Regions from separate parts of the Homo sapiens genome. Here regions 1 and 3 are each linked to region 2. Evidence: promoter capture Hi-C in human tissues and cell types (Jung and others, 2019). All regions are on one chromosome and are shown on one strand. The core of a region is centred on a gene start or on the middle of the fragment in contact, and the rest is flanking DNA. Distances in the headings are between cores, read along the strand shown.

Region 1 (2,939 bases), core at 106-2,605, 1.4 Mb after region 2:
AAGATGCTGCTTCGTCACCCCCGATCTTTGAGAGTGAAAAGGCCACTGACCTGGGTAGGGCCCAACATGAGCACAGCCCTGGCTAACCAAGAAGAGTCGCTATTTAAACTGTGGGTGCTTCAGATGTCCTTCCCTGGGCTCCTATTTCCCACTTCCGCCCCAGGGAACCCAAATCCCAGGTGACCACAGGATGGGGATATGGGAAGGTCATTACTGCCCTCTGATACAAGCTTACTTTGGGGTCCCATCACTACTCTCTCAGAAGTTGTAAACAGCAAGGGCCCTACCTCAAAACTTCCCATGGGTGCGAGGCCCAGAGACAGCCAAGGACAACTCATGCTCAGCAGTTGGTTTTCCAGGAGGACTGGAAACCTCCTGCCTTATCAACTTCTGCTGAGGTCAATGGTCAACAGAAGCCACAATCCTTTTGGGGAAGGGAGTGCAGAAGGTCAAAAAGAAGTCAATTCCCTAGACCAGGCATGGTGGCTCACACCTGTAATCCCAGCACTTTGGGAGACTGAGGCGGGAGGATCACCTGACGTTGGGAGTTCGAGACCAGCCTGACCAACATGGAGAAACCCCGTCTCTACTAAAAATACAAAATTAGCCAGGCGTGGTGGCGCATGCCTGTAATCCCAGCTACTCGGGAGGCTGAGGCAGAATTGCTTGAACCTGGGAAGTGGAGGTTGCGGTGAGCCAAGATTGCGCCACTGCACTCCAGCCAGGGCAACAAAAGCAAAACTCTGTCTCAAAAAAAAAAAGAAGTCAATTATTCTGGCTAGGGTCCTGGAATGAGAAATTGGCTGCTTGTAGTTAAGATTTCTTACTGCCATTTCTCCTCATGGCAGTAACAACATTCACCACCACTGCCCTCTTTGTCTGTCCCTGAACATCCTTGCTAAAGGCAGGGAGGGCCTCTGGCTCCAAGGTAAATTATCTGTTCTCAATAATATCTTGGCTGGCCCTGAGCAATGGCTCAGAGAACAGGAGAGTGACCAATGCAGATCCCTTTACATTAGGGAATGAAAATGCAAGGCAAAATTATGGCTGCTTCCTGCCTGACACTGTTGGCTTAGAAGAGCAGCCTTGTTTGTGGAACACCACTCCTTGCTCAGGGCAAGGAAAGGGCTCTTGGGAGGCAGAGGCCTATTCTGCACCTCAGGCCATGCCTGGCCTCTGAGCTCGGTGAGTTTGGTCAGCACTCATGACTATGTTAATATAGCCTGTTGAGGGAAACTTTTCATGCTAGTATGGATTGTATCTTTTATTTTAAGAGGCAATGACTTGGAGCCAAAGGCAGACATATGGATATAATTCTATAACACACACACACAATTTTTTCCTATAACACAACTTAATGAAACATTCCAAATGAGATAACTTATTGCAACATTTCAGGCTTTTTGGTGGAAAGGGAATTTTTTTGTTTTGCTATACCCTGAGTAGAAGATCATCGTTTTGTGTTTCTTTTTTTTTTTTTTTTAAATAAATCACATGACTAAGCTGAGCAAGTCACATCCTTGTTTGCACTGTATGAGGCTGTATGCAAAATCCAGAGGGGGGCAGAGATGGAGGGGGCAACCCAAAGCCTGGCTGGAACCTGGAACCAGGACACCTGGCCTGCCAATTACATGCCACCTCATATGAATTCCCTTAAATCTGCACCTTCTTCTGATAAGCAAAATGCAGCCCTTCTGCTCTGAGGAAGAAAATACCATTAAAAAGAAGGCAGACCACCAAACAGCACTGGCCATAAGCCACAAGTTCACTCTAGGACAAAACAGCGATGTTCCCCAAGGAAAATTCACTGCGATCTGCAAGCCCTGGCAACCAACCGAGAGAAAGAACCAGGAAGGCAAGGACAGTGATCATGTTGCTAGAGCCTGCTTTGCACACACGTCATCAACAGACAGCAGTCAACAAGCTGCCTAGGGCCTCTGCAGAGCCAGATCAACCCCACAGCCTGTGAGCCAGGCCTTAAGCTGCCTATTTGTGCTGAAGCGGGCTGCAGAACGACCCGTGTTATCCACCCTGAGCACCACCAACACTAAGCACAAATGACAACACCATCTCACCTGAACCCTGTCCAACTCACAGCTGCCTCACTGGCCTTTGCCACTGCCCTCTCTGATGGAGCAAGGGTCTGGCCTTCCAAGCAAATGTCAGCCTCAGATTCAAAAGACACATAGGAAGGAGCAACACCCAACACACTGAAAACTCCTGCCCGATCCACAAAGACCCCAGTGCAAGCGATGGGCAGCATCAGATTGATGGAAACCACACCCTTTCATTTAGAATTTTTATGCACACGAGTAACCTTAGTTTCCAAGTTCACATGACAACAAGCAAAAGTGACATACAGTGCAGCCAAACAGTTCACTTATAACTTAGCTTTTTTTGTTGTTTTTTTTGTTTTTTGTTTTTTTCCAAAGAATAGTTCCTTAAAATGGATGCTCCTGGGATGTGAATAAAGAAAATACGTCTGAAAGGTGAGGATTTCAAACAGTAGATTTCTTCATCCTTCAAATTTCTGACCCATGATGGCAGGCATTGTACCTCATGCCTCCTGCTCACCCGCTTTTCCCAGAGGTGAGCACACATGGGCCCTTCACTTGGAGAAGCTGCTGGTGAGGCCCATCTCCTCCTCCCCCTGCAGTAGTGCTTCAATGGGAATCAGATTGGACGGGGTGTCCAGGCTCTGGAGGGATAGAAACTCTGACACATCCATGGCACTTAATGTTTCTGTCTGAGGGTCTGAAGGAGTCTCTGCTTGTCGGCTTTGCTCACAGGAGGAGGGCAAGGTAGAGGATGATGACCCGGGAACAGGGGCTGAAGAGAAAGTCTGCGCTGGGAGCTGCAGGCTGGGCCCATCAGGAGCCTGGGGGCTCGGCTCTGGAGGGGGTGGGGAGGAGCAGCCCTTTCTCCTGCTGGATGCCCGC
Region 2 (2,755 bases), core at 35-2,534:
TTCAACTTTTCCTCCTCCACTTTGAAATATAATATTTCCTTCATACTTAATCCTAGGAAATTTGGTATAAGCAAGTTGTTTGCCGAGAAGGGAGGAAAAGAGGAAAAGGAACAGAGTGGCAGAGTGTTCTGAGTCGTCATTTTTCTGGGGATTAGTGTGGTGTCCATGGGAGGCAGATTTTGCATTTTCGAAGCTCTCATATAATTATTTTCACAATTGTATTCCCCTCCAACACTTGTGAGGAGATTTATAACTTTCTTATTTTTTTCATATTTATCTATATTATTTTAGAACACCAAATTTCTAGAAATACTTCTGAGATGAGTAAGACCAATCTCCAGCTTATGTGGGAAGATACTACCATAAAGAAATTAAGAATCTGAACCTGGGCTGGACGCGGTGGCTCACGCCTATAATCCCAGCACTTTGGGAGGCCGAGGGGGGCAGATCGTTTGAGTCCAGGAATTGAAGACCAGCCTGGGAAACATGGTGAAACCCCATCTCTACTAAAAATACAAAAATTAGCTGGGTGTGGTGGTGCATGCCTGTAATCCCAGCTACTTGGGAGGCTGAGGCACGAGAATCGCTGGAACCCAGGAGGCAGAGGTTGCAGTGAGCCGAGATCGTGCCACACACTCCAGCCTGGGCGACAGAGCGAGACCCTGTCTCAAAAAAAAAAAAAAAAAAAAAAAAAAAAAAAAATCAGAACCTGTTCCTTGGGGGTAAAGAGGATGCTTGGACTAGCAAGGGGTATGATACTAGATGGTGGGCAGCTGGGACTCCTACATTTGGAAGGCACTGATTGACAAGAGAGACTGGGAAATCACCTCTCCCATTTGAAGAGATGGGGAAATTAGGGAGGTCAGGCACCCTAGTGTCCACTGGGAGTATTAAGTTCCTCTGCTGTGAAAAAAGCTTTTGGGGGGATTTGACTCCCGAGGGGCTCCAAATGGATGTGGCTTGTAAGAAAGGTCCCTGGTTATAAGAGTGAAGTGTGTAGGGGTGCGGGTCTGGCTGTGGGTGTTAGGGCGATGATGAGAGGGCCGGGCTGCTGGCTGCGGGTCTGGCTGAGCGGGCCGGGGGCCTCTCACCTTTGCGGGCCTTGTCTCCCGGGATGTTCTGGGCCCGCAGCCGTTGGTCGAGGATGTAAAGCATCTCCCCGCCCAAGTTCAAGAAGAGCAGCGGTAGCGTCCGCACCGACATGGTGCTGGAAACGAGCTGGACTGGTGAAGAGCCCCGGGGTTCGGTAGCCAGTGGCCTGAAGGCCAGGCCGCAGCGTCCCAATAGTCCGGTTGCTGGGGCAACGCCGTGACGGGAAGAGCGAGCCAATCAGAAGGCGGTTTGGTGGGAGGTGCCCTGAAGACGGGAGCTAATTGGTCTGGGTGGTGGACCGTCCCGGGGGGATTGGTCCGAGCCAGAGGCCGGCGCGGCGTTGGGCGCGGCTGGGGAGCTGTGCTTCTGAGAGTAGGTTTCCCTCGAAAGGGCGAGGGCCGGGCCAGGGCTGGGGGTGGTCTCGACACAGCCAGCCCGGCGCTTGGGACCCCGGCCGCTGGCGCGGGGCCTCAGGTTCCTATAACAGAGGAAAGCCCAGGCAGAACGGCATTAGAGCAGGCTCGGGTCAGACGGACCTGGGTTGGAATCACGGCTCGTGATTTCTTGCTGTGTGACTTCGGGCAGGGTTTGAGCCTTGGCTTCCTCTTACGTAACATGGAGCTGGCACTCACATCACAGGGCGGCTGAGAGGAATCAGTCAGATCATGGAAAGGCCCCGAAAGCACTCAATAAAAATGGTAACTGACTTTTCTTTTAGACGAGGGAAGGATCAGAAGTCCTGAGTCGTTTGCATCGCCTCCCAAAAGTTTACTTGAAGTGAAGCCCCTCCTGGTTTCATACTCCATGAAGCAAACCAGTCCCGTCCGTCCCCGTGTGTCCAGTTCCCAGAGGATGCGCCTGGGGGCTCTGGGAAGTTCCCTCCTCGACGCTGTTCCGAAGGCCTCCCAACCATTTCTTTTTTCTTTTTTTTTTTTTTTTGAGACGGATTTTGCCCTTGTCGCTCAGGCTGGAGTGCAGTGGCGCCATCTCGGCTCATTGCAACTTCCGCCTTCAGGGTTCAAGCGATTCTCCTGCCTCAGCCTCCCGAGTAGCTGGGATTACAGGCGCCCGCCACCATGCCCGGCTAATTTTTGTATTTTTAGTAGAGACGGGGTTTCACCATGTTGGCCAGGCTGGTCTGGAACTCCTGACCTCAGGTGATCTGCCCGCCTGGGCCTCCCAAAGTGCTGAGATTACAGGCGTGAGCTATCACGCCCGGCCCCAACCATTTCTCTTTGAGGGCAGCGACTCCCTTCCTTACCTCCATCTTAAGCTCCAGGATTACTTTTTGCCATCTGCTGTATATTTTTACTCTGATGAACAACCATTTCTGTAAATTTCAGTACTTCCAAAACCTACTAATTATCTTTCCCTCCAGCTACTCAAACTTGAAACTTGGGCCTTGGCTTCCAAATCTGTTTCCCAGGGTCTTTTATCAGTCATCATATTATGCTTTTTCCTCCAACACCTTTCTTACATTCATCCCTTCATTTGTTTTTCTGTCTGCATTGCTATGTTCCTCTGTATCACTGTTCTTTTCTCTCTTCTACCTTGCACTGGCTGCTAAGCTAAATGTCAGAAGACATCACTTTTTTTTTTTTGAGATGGAGTTTCACTCTTGTCGCGCAGGCTGGTGTGCAATGGCACGATCTCGGCTTACTGC
Region 3 (2,700 bases), core at 172-2,671, 1.0 Mb after region 2:
GCAATCTCAAACTGTTAAGAGTCAAAAATATTTTTTTTTTTTGAGATGGAGTCTCGCTCTGTCGCCCAGGCTGGAGTGCAGTGGCACTATCTCAGCTCACTGTAAGCTCCGCCTCCCAGGTTCATGCCATTCTCCTGCCTCAGCCTCCCGAGTAGCTGGGACTACCGGCACCCGCCACCACGCTCAGCTAATTTTTTGCATTTTTAGTAGAGATGGGGTTTCACTGTGTTCGCCAGGATGGTCTCGATCTCCTGACCTCGTGATCCGCCCGCTTCGGCCTCCCAAAGTGCTGGGATTACAGGTGTGAGCCACCGCACCCAGCCCAAGAGTCAAAAATATTTTAAGGTCTGCTGTGTGCTTTCCCCAAAAGGAAGGAAACTGTAGGCATCCCACTCCTCCCTCCCAGCAAAGGAGACCAACAGACAAAAAATACAGAATGCTTCTAGGATTTTTTTTTTTAAGGAATAATCTAAATATAAGAAACTATTTCCTTAAAAATCCTGACACTGGAGTTCTGCTACCAAAGACACAGTCAAAGATCTAAATAGCCAGAGTCAAAAAAAAAAAAAAAAAAAAACCCACAAAAGTTTATTTGAGAACAAGAGTGAAAGCTTTTGCACATCTGACAAGGTAGACTTGTTTTACAGTAGATGCCATCCATATTCAGCCCTACCAATACTATCACAAATGAAACATACTATTTCTTACAAAGATATAGGCATAAGTCAAGGACTATGACTAACTAGAGTGAAAGGAAAGGTTAGACCCCAAATCTTATCCCTTAGACCAATCATAACATAGGATGTAAATTAAACCATTCAGTCTTCTAATGTAGTGGTTCTCAACCTGGCTTCTTATCAGAATCCCAGGAACTCTTTTAAAGAAATTCCCAATAACTAGGCTGTACCCCAGTCTCTAGGGATGGGATCCAGGCATGAGTATTTTAAAGCTTCTCAGGTGATTCCAATGTGCAGCCAGACCCTGTCGCAAGTTCACCACAGCACTAGAGGCAGGTAACGATTACTAGCAGATTCCTCAGCCCCAACAAGCCCTCCAAGAAAGGGAGACCTGGTGGGCAACACTGGCTCTCACTGATGCTATCCTTTCACTCCACTTAAGAACGACATAAGTTATCACTTTTGGTATAATTTTGAGACTTTCCATATGCCATGGTGATTTTTAGAGCAATATTTAATCAGGTGAATACCAGCAAAGAGAGAAAATACAGAAAAAGAAATTTCCATAAGGCATGATATGAATAAATAAGTGAAAAAACAATCTCGGGTTTAAAAGTAAAGCATGAGAATTTGAAGCCTGTGAAATTTTATTTATACAAAAGAATAAAAAGTTATTTAAAAAGAACTGATTTAAACTTATGTTTTTCCATTTTTCCTGTTCCTTGAACATGAATCTACTACCAACTCAGAAAGATTTAAGATAGGTAATTACTAAACACTCTTTACCTCCCCTTGCAAAAAACAGAGGCAAGTTTCCCATTTTACTTATGATAAACCAGATTATTTTCAGTTATGAATATTGGCAACTGCATGAAAGAGATGATCAGATATGTCAGCAGGAAAGTATGAGCTGTACAAAGGCATTACAAAAAAACCCCAAAGAAAATAAGATAAAAACAACAAGAGAAAAACAAGAAAACATAAAACAATATAAGAAAATGCCAGATATTTACAGCCTCCATCTGAAATGTGACTTGTGTTCTACTTTCAGCATAAAACAAAACCAGAGAACATTTCTTGAAGGGTATCACAGATGAAGCTGGTGCCAGCCAGTTTTGGGGGAGACATTCATTCTAAGAAGGGAGAAACGCACAGTTAGCAACTTGCTGGGATTACAACATTGTCTTCATCTTCCTGCAGTTCTGTTACTAAAAATGACATAAAGTAAGACCCAATGTCTTACAGAAATGACTTGTTTGTCACCACATTTAGAACAAACTACTCAAAGTCACAGGCACTGGGTCTGGGAGAGCAGAGGTGGATGGCCACGAACTCAGGTGAAGGATGTTTATCTTTGTGAGGTCAGAGAAGGGAAGCAGGGCTCTACAGCCTGGAAGCTTCTGCACTAATGTGTCTTCTAATAGTCCTAAAGAAAGAAAAACAAAAGTCCCAACTTACTCTCGGCAGAACAGTTGTTTGACCCTAAAGGAAAAAAAAAATCTCATAAACAACTCTACTAGGGGACTGCTCTATAGCTAAAGATTATATTTCAGGCCAGGCACAGTGGCTCACACCTGTAATCCCAGCACTTTGGGAAGCCGAGGCAGGGAGATCACGAGGTCAGGAGTTCGAGACCAGCCTGGCCAGCATAGTGAAACCCCGTCTCTACTAAAAATACAAAACATTGGCCAGACATGGTGGTGGGCACCTGTAATTCCAGCTACTCAGGAGGCTGAGGTGGGAGAATCGCTTGAACCTGGAAGGCGGAGGTTGCAGTGAGCCAAGATCGCGCCATTGCACTCCAGCCTGGGTGACAAGAGTGAAACTCTGTTTCAAAAAAAAAAAAAAAAAAAAAGATTGTATTTCAGGCCAGGCGTGGTGGCTCAGGCCTATAATCCCAGCACTTAGGGAGGCCCAGGCGGGCAGATCACTTGAGGTCAGGAGCTCGAGACCAGCCTGGGTAACAAATTAAGACCATGTCTCTACAAAAAACACAAAAATTAGCCAGGTGTGGTGGCTCATG

What was found. Contacts are between HindIII fragments. The study calls those that stand out against the background at their distance.
Region 1: a fragment that was not itself captured here is called in contact with the fragment with the promoter of OSCP1 in region 2 in 1 of the 25 tissues and cell types used here (hippocampus).
Region 3: a contact is called between a fragment that was not itself captured here and the fragment with the promoter of OSCP1 in region 2, in 1 of the 25 tissues and cell types used here (hippocampus).

Annotation. Positions count from the first base shown.
Region 1 is chr1:37,812,528-37,815,466 of GRCh38, forward strand. It overlaps MTF1 (metal regulatory transcription factor 1), which reads right to left. Exons shown (of 11, transcript NM_005955.3): 11 at 1-2,939. The coding sequence ends at 2,609. Among named protein-coding and RNA genes, the nearest start is that of YRDC, 5.8 kb to the left of the region's middle. The HindIII fragment of the contact is 4,615 bases long and covers 1-2,939 here.
Region 2 is chr1:36,449,167-36,451,921 of GRCh38, forward strand. It overlaps OSCP1 (organic solute carrier partner 1), which reads right to left and starts at 1,285. Exons shown (of 10, transcript NM_145047.5): 1 at 1,092-1,285. The coding sequence starts at 1,203. It overlaps LOC107984940 (a long non-coding RNA gene), which reads left to right. Exons shown (of 3, transcript XR_001737976.2): 3 at 292-399. RefSeq lists a silencer at 1,411-1,680. The HindIII fragment of the contact is 9,579 bases long and covers 1-2,755 here.
Region 3 is chr1:37,492,005-37,494,704 of GRCh38, forward strand. It overlaps MEAF6 (MYST/Esa1 associated factor 6), which reads right to left. Exons shown (of 7, transcript NM_001270875.3): 7 at 1-2,103. The coding sequence ends at 2,095. Among named protein-coding and RNA genes, the nearest start is that of MIR5581, 7.6 kb to the right of the region's middle. The HindIII fragment of the contact is 5,415 bases long and covers 1-2,700 here.